Regions from separate parts of the Homo sapiens genome. Here regions 1 and 3 are each linked to region 2. The links are contacts of gene promoters, found by promoter capture Hi-C in blood cells and fetal thymus (Javierre and others, 2016). All regions are on one chromosome and are shown on one strand. The core of a region is centred on a gene start or on the middle of the fragment in contact, and the rest is flanking DNA. Distances in the headings are between cores, read along the strand shown.

Evidence for each region. Contacts are between HindIII fragments. The CHiCAGO score rates a contact against its expected background, and 5 or more counts as called.
Region 1: a fragment that was not itself captured here is called in contact with the fragment with the promoter of PPIL6 in region 2 in 1 of 17 cell types (total CD4 T cells); the score reaches 5.1 in total CD4 T cells.
Region 3: a contact is called between a fragment that was not itself captured here and the fragment with the promoter of PPIL6 in region 2, in 1 of 17 cell types (neutrophils). The highest score is 6.8, in neutrophils.

What each region holds. Positions count from the first base shown.
Region 1 is chr6:108,552,241-108,555,163 of GRCh38, reverse strand. LOC124901372 (a long non-coding RNA gene) reads left to right here. Exons shown (of 2, transcript XR_007059700.1): 2 at 1,797-2,923. Among named protein-coding and RNA genes, the nearest start is that of FOXO3, 7.2 kb to the left of the region's middle. The HindIII fragment of the contact is 5,724 bases long and covers 1-2,923 here.
Region 2 is chr6:109,438,981-109,442,111 of GRCh38, reverse strand. PPIL6 (peptidylprolyl isomerase like 6) reads left to right here and starts at 1,484. Exons shown (of 8, transcript NM_173672.5): 1 at 1,484-1,656. The coding sequence starts at 1,522. SMPD2 (sphingomyelin phosphodiesterase 2) reads right to left here and starts at 1,388. Exons shown (of 10, transcript NM_003080.3): 1 at 941-1,388; 2 at 659-755; 3 at 484-560; 4 at 45-138. The coding sequence starts at 990. RefSeq lists enhancers at 504-583, 744-813 and silencers at 1,227-1,432, 1,074-1,893. The HindIII fragment of the contact is 7,598 bases long and covers 1-3,131 here.
Region 3 is chr6:110,049,732-110,052,606 of GRCh38, reverse strand. No RefSeq gene overlaps it. Among named protein-coding and RNA genes, the nearest start is that of GPR6, 73 kb to the right of the region's middle. The HindIII fragment of the contact is 4,700 bases long and covers 1-2,875 here.

The sequences.
Region 1 (2,923 bases), core at 400-2,899, 890 kb after region 2:
GTTGAGAATTCAGGCTCTGAGTTAAGTCTGATTCCTCATTTACCAGCCATGCGACCTTGGGATATTACTTAATCATGAAGCCTCATGTCTTTATCTTTAAAATGAGAATACCTTCTAAGATTGTTGGAAGGATTGGGATAATTGAAATTATGAATCTAAAGCACTTAGTATTAGAGCACTAGGGGGTGCTTTAAAAATAGTCATGCCCAGGCTCCACCTTGGACCAACTGAATTAGAAATTCTGAGGTCAGGGTCTGGCATTGACTGATTGTTGTTGTTGTTGTTTTTAAATATTTGCCAGGTGAATCTAAGGCAGTGAAGGTTGAGAACCCTGAGATAGAGGTCTCTGTGCTGCACATGCCAGCGTTTGCCTTCAGCTCTGACTCTCTGGTTCCTGCTTAGAATGAGGACAGAGCCATGAACTGACTACACACAGGGGGCAGCTTCCATACACAAAACATCTCGGTTTGTTTCTAGAACAACCTACCACAGCAGGGACCATCCCTCTCATTTTACCAGGATTTGCCTCAGGTCACACAGTGAGTGGCAGGCCTAGGATTCGAACTGAGAATTCTGAGTCCATGGTGCATTCTCCTCTTCCCCAGTACTGCACTGCCTCTCCAAAATGAGCCTAAAGAAAGGGGGCTTTATGTGAGCCTTTTGGCCTGGAGAAAAGGGGCTGGAACCAGATAAGCAAACATAACCCGAGACACTTCCCCAACCTGTCTAAAGCTAGTGGTTATCTGGCCAAATCTGCCCCAATAGGGTTAGTTTTTGGTTCTCTCTGGTGTTTTTTAAATTTTTGATCTCTTGAGGTCAGGAATTCAAGACCAGCCTGAGCAAGATAGCAAGACCCCCATCTCTAAAATCTTTTAAAATTAGCTAGGTGTGGTGGCATGCACCTGTAGTCCCCCAGGTGCTTGGGAGGCTGAGGTGGGAGGATCACTTGAGTCCAGGAATTCAAGGCTGCAGTGAAATATGATTGTGCCACTGCACTACAGCTTGGATGACAGAGAAAGACTCCATCTCTTAAAAAAAAAAAAAAAGTTTCTTAGTCTGTTGCCAACATTTAAAAGGAAGAGATTTCACCTAAAATTTGGATTTCTAGCTCTTCTTGAGAAATTGGAAGATATGGTAACACTGGCACTATACCCACAGGGTAACAGTTAGCTGGTATGTGCTCTAGTTAGTTCACCTCTTCCTCATCAGGCTCTCCCCACCAATCTCTGGGTGACTTAGCCACCCTGATTTGGATCTTTTACCTTCATAGTGGCATTGACCCGCTCCAGTTCATGAGAGAAGACTGTGCACATCTTGGTAGTTTGAAATGGACTACTATGGGAGTATTTACATCACAGAAATTGGCAAATCCATCAAGGCTTGCTTGCTTTTTTTTTTCCTTCCTTTTCTTCTTTCGGAGGGCCAGTCTGCCAGCACACCATTGCCCCTACTCCACTCAGCCACTGTCTTGCATTCTGAGGAGGAAGATTTGTTCTGAATAGAAAGTAAAGGAAACAGAAGCACTGGAGAAACTGTACGTCGATTCTGCTTAGCAACTGATTATACATTATCTAACCTTGTTTTTAAAGTACTTCAATTTAACACAATGGAGCAAATAACCAGAACAAACTTCCTGATGAAAACTAAAGCTGGATAAGATTTTTAAAAATTTTTTAAATGGATTTTATTGAGCTGGCAAAAAAGGAAGAAACCCACAGAGACCAAAAACAAAGTTAAGGTGGGAAGTGAGCACACTCCTAGAAAATCTGACAACATTTGAGCTTCTACTTTGACAGGTGTGTAGAGTCTGGGACACAGAAGATAAATCCTCAGTCTTGTCCAAGATCAGGAGAATAAGAAGACTCTACCCCCCTAAAACCAGAAGTCCAAAGGGCCAAAGTAAAGGCGAATGTGAAATTAACTGGCTTTGCAGAAGAGGATCCCAGGAAAAATCGTCTGTCTTGATCAAAGCCCTGAATAAAAGAGTATAAAAAATATTCTTCCTTGAAAATTCACAACTATGGTGTGGTCCGTATGTAATATTATGACCAAAATTCATGATACCATGGAATTATTTTAAAAACTTCATGAGCCCCAGTTTGTGGTGCTTTTAACAACTGGCAGAAGGAAAGACACATCCTCTTGGAGGGCTATCTTGAGCCTAGGCCCCAAAGAACTTCCATAATCATAATCAGAAAACACAAAACATATAATAAGCAAGGCTCCATGTAGGAGCAGACAGAAACAAAATGTAAGGTCAGATACACAAAGGCTGGGGTATGAGAATAAGCTGACACAGAAAATAAGTGTACTTAATAGGTTTAAACAAAAAGGAAGTTTGAAAATAGAAGAAAGGAACAAGAGTCTATAAAAAACAACTGAGTAGATTTGAAATCAAAATACTTCTTTGTTTTTCTTCCCAGCTAGATATTATGTCCTTGAAGACACAGGGATCAGGCTAAACACTATATGTTATCGTTTGTCAATTGAAGGAAGTTAGAAACAAAGTACTCAATTTTTTTTGAAACCCAGCAGTAAGAATGAGAGTTGTGACTACATTTTTAAAATGTAAATGTAAAAACTCCTGTTGTAAATGTTAATCAATCTCTTCTAGAGGAAAGGAAGACAAAATCAAAATTAATGCAATGCTTCCGGCTGACTGGCCTCCAGCAAATGGCATTGAGCTTTGTAAGTGGTCCATCTACTCCATTTCTCATCTTGCAAAAATTTGTGAAGTGAGCATGTGTCCATGTCCATGTGTTAGAAAATCTATTTAAAATGCTGGCTGGGCGCAGTGGCTCACCCCTATAATCCCAGCATTTTGGGAGGCAGGGGCGGGAGGTTCACTTGAGGCCAGGAGTTCGAGACCAGCCTGGCCAACATGGTGAAGCCTCATCTCTACTAAAAATACAAAAATTAGCTG
Region 2 (3,131 bases), core at 235-2,734:
GGAGGTGGGGAAGGGAGGTGGAAGAGGTCAAAGGTCTGCCTTACCATGTAGGGGTAGCCATTGAGAGTGTAGATGTGCTGGGTAAGCTCCTGGATTGGATGTTTGGAGAAGACACAGAGGCCACTGCCAATGATTCCGCTGAAAGCCAAGCCCTGCTTAATAACCAGAAAAACAGGGAGAGACACCCAGCCTTCTTCCCCTCCCTTGTCTTCCAGCTCTGATCAGCTATTTTTTTCTTTTTCTACTGCTGGGACTAGCCCTAGAACCAAGGCGACAGCCTTTGGAGGAGTATAGGGCAGCCAGAAAACAAAGCTGAAATGGGCTGAAGTCATAGGACCTTCTTGGTTCACCCTTCTCCTTCTCTCACATCCAGAGGGAGAGGAGGCTGGAGGAGACTGGAGAGTGCAGGCAGGATAGGGAAGGGCTGGCAGGGCCAAGAGCCTCCTGGGATGACAACAGGCTTCAGGCCAGTGGGCTTCTCACCTCCGGAAGTGGTGTGCAGCTGGGTAGGTAGGTGACAGCTTCTGTCTCAGGTACTGGAAGTCCTGCTCACTCCACACCTGAGGGAAGCGGTGAGGATGCCTGCTTGGTCTTTCCCCAGTGGGACGGTCTGTCCCTCCTCCCAGCCTGGGTTCCGCACCGTGCTGCACAATCTCACCTCCTCCAGCAAAGCCAGGTCGAAGCTCTCCTGGTTCAGAAAGTCTCCCAGGCGCCTCATGCGGTCGGCCCGGTGCTTGCTCAAGTACGGAATGCCCCTAAGGAAGGGAAGAGCGGGGCAGGGGAGGCGACTGCTGGGACCACCGGCGCTGGGGCCAGATGTGGACTTTGGAGGTTCGGGTTTTCCCTACACCCTGAGATCGTGGGGCGGGATAGGGGGAGGAAGGCTGCATGGGTGCGAACGGAAGGTGGCCCCCAGACCGCACTCCGCAGACGCACTCACCAGCAGTTGAGGTTGAAGATCCGCAGTCGCAGGGAGAAGTTGGGCTTCATGGTTGGGGAGCTCCAGGGGCGCTAGGCGGCTCGAACTCTCCAGCGACGGCCGCGGTGGGGACGGGGGCGGCCGGCGGCGCCTTCTCCCCAGACCGTTCCTTCTTCGCAGGCGGCGCGCACAGGTGGGCACCAAGCCCGCGTGGCTCAGGTCGGGCCCGACTCCCGCGTTCCCCCGGCAACCGGCCGGCTGTTCCCAATCAGGCGGGCCGCCAACCCGGAAAGGCGATCCGCTGCCGAAATCCGGGCGCCCAGGCTCGGTAAGGGCCGCGCGCTAGGACCCTGGGGGTCCGGAGAGCGCCCCCGGGTGGGCGGCTCCCGGTTCCTTTTCCTCCAAGCTCGTCCCCGGCGGTCGCGGCCGCCCGCGCGCCGGCGGCCCAGCAACAGGCGCAAAGTTGAGGAAAGGCCCAGCCGCCACGGGCCGCCCTCGACCCGCCCCTGGGCCCCGCCTCCTGCGAGCGGCGGAGGCGGGGCCGCGCGGTTGCCGGAGCGACGCGCAGTGTTTGGGGTCACCGGGCGTCCCCGGGCGCGGCCATGGCAAGGCCGCAGCCGTGCGGGCCCCCGCACGCTAGGTGCGGCTCGCCGTCGCTGCCGGAGCGGCCGCTGCAGGTGAAGGTGGTGGGGCTCTTCAGCTGCCCCAACTTTCAGATTGCGAAGAGCGCCGCTGAGGTAACCACAGAGAAACCTCCGTCGTGGGCGGCCCTCCCCGCTACCCGCTCTCGGCCGCGTGGACTGCAGGCGCCGCGCCTCCTCGAGGCGGCGGGGGTCGAGGCCCCACCGGCCGAGGAAGGGGCTGGCGTGTCCTGGCCGGGCGGGCTCCGTCTGGAGGACCGGGAGGAGAGTATAGGGGGGCAAGTGCGGGTCCGGGGGCGGGCGTTCCACTTGGCGACTTTTAAAGGGAGAACTGAGCGAAGGAAGGGTTCAGAACCGCGCTGGGAGATAAGGTAATCCCCTCCGAGACACACACACACACACCCGCAGATTTTGTTCTACGTCAATTTTTTCTTTAATTAGAGATATTTAAATTTATGGAAAAATGATTACTATATAACTAGCTAATTTTTACAACCCCGCCACCTCGGCCCAAGCGATTTTTGTTAACTATTCATGCGGGGAGATTCTTTTCTTTGAATTTTATAGAGCCGTCACTGCGTTCCAATCGAACTAGATGCTTCACAAGTGCTTTGGAAAATCATTTCTTTGTAAACACTCAGAACGATACTAAAGGAAAAGCACTTGAGGAAACTGGAAGAATTTGGCCAGATCAGTCATGCTGCAGCACACTTACAACCTGAAATGCAGGAGAAATGTATGAAATGTCGGCATGTAGAATTCAGCCCTTCTTACAGGGTTTGCTCCAGAAATGCTGTCCATGGCAAACTTCTCGCCGAAGCTCACTTGACTCCAGGACCATGCCTTAATTAATGTTTTTAACTCCCGAAGTACCCAGCTGGATACTTGACAACAAAATGTTCCCAAATAGAAGATATCTTGGCGCGGTGACTCACGCCTATAATCTCAGCACTTTGGGAGGCAGAGGCGGAGTTCTAGACCAGCCTGGCCAACATGGTGAAACCCCGTTTCTACTAAAAATACAAAAAATTAGCCGGGCGTGGTGGCGGTCTCTGTAATCCCAGCTACTCAGGAGGCTGAGGCACAAGAATCGCTTGAACCCGGGAGGCGGAGTTTGCAGAGAGCTGAGATCGCGCCATTGCCCTCCAGCCTGGGCGACAGAGCCAGACCCCGTCTCAAAATAAATAAATAATAAAAAGAAAACAAGTGATCAGAAGTCTGTGAAAATAATACATGAATCATCAAAAGTAGAAATTGTGGTCTGTGTTGCTTGGGCAGACGGGATCAGCAACCTTTTATTACCAAAGTTAATGGCCATGAAGTTAATTACAAAGTTAATGTATTAATGAGTTTCAGAGATTTTTTTTCTCTTTTTTTTCGCTCTTTTTCTGAAGGCACATATTTTCTGTGCCGACTCCACATTGTAAAGAAAGTGTTGACAAGTTTTTTTCTGTAAAGTCCAGATAGTAAATATGTTAGGCCTTCTTGGCAATAGGGTCTCAGTCACACCTGTTTAGCTTTTTCCTGTGTTGCAAAAGCAGACACAGAGATGGAAATGAATGACAGTATTC
Region 3 (2,875 bases), core at 195-2,694, 610 kb before region 2:
TTGGCAGGAACAACACTGAAACCTTCCATTTGAAACTGGAGGGATGCTTGCGACGGTTGCCAGACTGGAGAGCCATGTTCCCTCTGTTGGGCAGTGATCTCACACAGTACCCAATCTGGGGTAAAACACCTCACCTTTGTATCTGGTTTGTGTTTGTGACTTCTACTCCACAGAATGTGGTTTAGGCATCTATTCATTCAATCCTTCTGAAAGGATTGACACCTGTTATATACAAGGCTCATATGGGAAGAAGAATAATCAGCAGCAAGGACACCAGCTAACATTTGTTAAATGCCTATCACATACCACGTCCTATGACAGGGACCCTTAAGCCTTAGGAAGCTGGTCTGCTCTGGATTCACATAGTGGGTGGCTCTGGTTTCCCTTGCTTTCACCAAACCCTGTGAGGGAGGCACTACTAGTATTCTCATTTACATATGAAGAAATGGAGGCACACGGAAGTTAAGTAACCTGCCCGAGGTCATATACTTAGAACATACAGAACTAGGATTTCAGCCTAAATGTCCGGGGTCCTTGGGCTCAGCCATTGTGCTACGCTGCATATGTGTGGTACATGAATGAGAAAATTGTCCCTGAGGAAGGTCTAGAAAGTGGCTGTCAAAGGTGAATAGCAACTAGTAGGAAAGAATGTGAGCCATCCTCCAGAGTTTGAACCCAGATGTCTGACTGTGCAGCCCTGTTCCTAACCATTTGTGCTTACTGTCTGTGTTAGAGAAACAGAACCAATAGGATATAGATATTTATATATAATAAAGAACTGGTTCACATGATTACGGAGGCTAAGCACTGGGATATATATATATATATATATATATATATATATATATATATATATATAAAATGAGGAAGCGGCTCATGTGATTATGGAGGCTGAGAGGTTCTGATCTGCCATCTGCAAGCTGGAGGCCCAGGAAAAGGTAATTCAGTCTGAGTCCAAAGGTCACAGAAACAGGGGAGCCAAGGTGTAAGCCCCAGTCTAAGGGTAGGAGAAGATGAGATGAGATGTCCCAGCTTAAGCAGAGAGGCAGGAAGAAAAAAATAGGTGAATTCCTTTTTTCTCAGCCTTTTGCTCCATTCAGGCCCTCAATGGATGATGCCCACCCACACTGGGGAGGGGAGTCCCCACTGTGGGATTACTGAGCCCACCAGTTCAAATGCCAGTCTCATCCAGGAACATCCCCACAGACACACCCCGAAATAATATTGAATCTGGGCATCCCAAGGCTCAGTCAAGTTGACACATAAAATTAACTGCCTATTGAAAAGTATATTAGGATGCAAGTTCGGATGCTATAGCAAAGACGAAAACAGCAGTGGACAAAGCAAGAAAGAAGTTGGTTTCTCTTCCATAACTGTTCAAGCCTAGAAGTCCAGGGCTGGTATCCTGGTTCAATGGTGTGGGAGACCCAGGCTCTTTCATCTCATTCCACAGCCATCCCCAACATGTGGGTTCCATCTGATTGTCTAAGCAGCAACGACTCCACTTACCATGTCTGCATTCTAGCCAAGGGAGAAGGGGAAGAGAAGGGGAAGCTGTCTCTTTCTCTTCGAAGGCACCATTTGGAAGCCATTTACCTCATTTCTTCTTACATGGCAGTAGTCAGAACTAATTGACTGTACCTTGCTGCAAGGAAGGCTGGGAATATGTTATTAGTGTCCTGAAGTTGTATTCTTTTACAAGATAGAGAGAATGAATAGTCGAGTATATCTAGCATTTGTTTCCACAGGAAATATTTACTAGAGGTGAGGCATATAGAGGATCAGATGAACGAGGCTGATAGGAGTGTACCGGTCCCTGCTGCAGAGTTAGAGGTGTGGGACCTAATCAGGCTCCGGTCCCTGCTGCAGAGTTAGAGGAGTGGGACCTAGTCAGGCTGCTTGAGTCTGGATGCCGGTTGCACTGTTCATGTGTGTGTATGATTTTAACCACAAGTTACTTTATCTGTAAAACTGGGATAATAACACTTTATTTGGATGCCATGAGTATTAAATGAGATAATCCATCTAAATGTTTCCTGTTCTTTTTGGCTTAATCTGGATTCCCTGGAAAACAGAATCTGAGGCAAAGTTGAAGTAGTAATGCTTTTTAATGAAGTGCAATAGTAGGGCAGCCAGTGTGAGGCAGGGAAGGATGGGAAGCAAATGCCGGGCCCCGCTGCTGACCTGGCCAAGGCTTCACGAAGACACAGCCTGTCAGATGGCCCCAGGAGATGCCTTTTGGACAGGCCAGAGGAAGGAATAGCAGGCGACTTGATCTGCAGAATCCCTCCTGACTCCTATCCCCAACAGATCAAGGTTCATCCCCTGTGGAGTTTCATATCCCACACTTTGGGGTTGCATCACCTGGCCCTTTTAGAAACTGCTGAGGAATCCATCCCCCGTGCATTGTGGTGTGGCTCTTCTTCCAAGTCTGGGAGGGGCGCATGGAGTCTCAGCTCTGGCTGCTGGTCAGTGACTCCATGCCCTACTGTGGAATCATCTGGCAGAGTCAGTTGATGCAGGGGCTGCAGACGTTACATGGATAATGGAGGGTGGAAGGATTTAGAGCTTAAATAGTCTAAGGCAGCTCATAAGATGTATCGAGTCCATTATTATTATGTGTTGGAAAGAACAGCAGCTTTGACATTAGACAGCACTACCATTCTCTAGCTATGACACCTTAGGTTTAATGTACTCTCACTGAGACTTGGTTTTCTCACATATAAAGATGTGGTGACCACACCGGCTTGACAAGCTATTATGAGGATTAAATAATGCAATTGATGTGAAAGGACCTGGTGCTATGCCTGGTAAACAGCAGCTTCCTGCCTGGTTTCCCATTCTGCGGTCGGGGGAACCAGATCCTCCTTCCCCT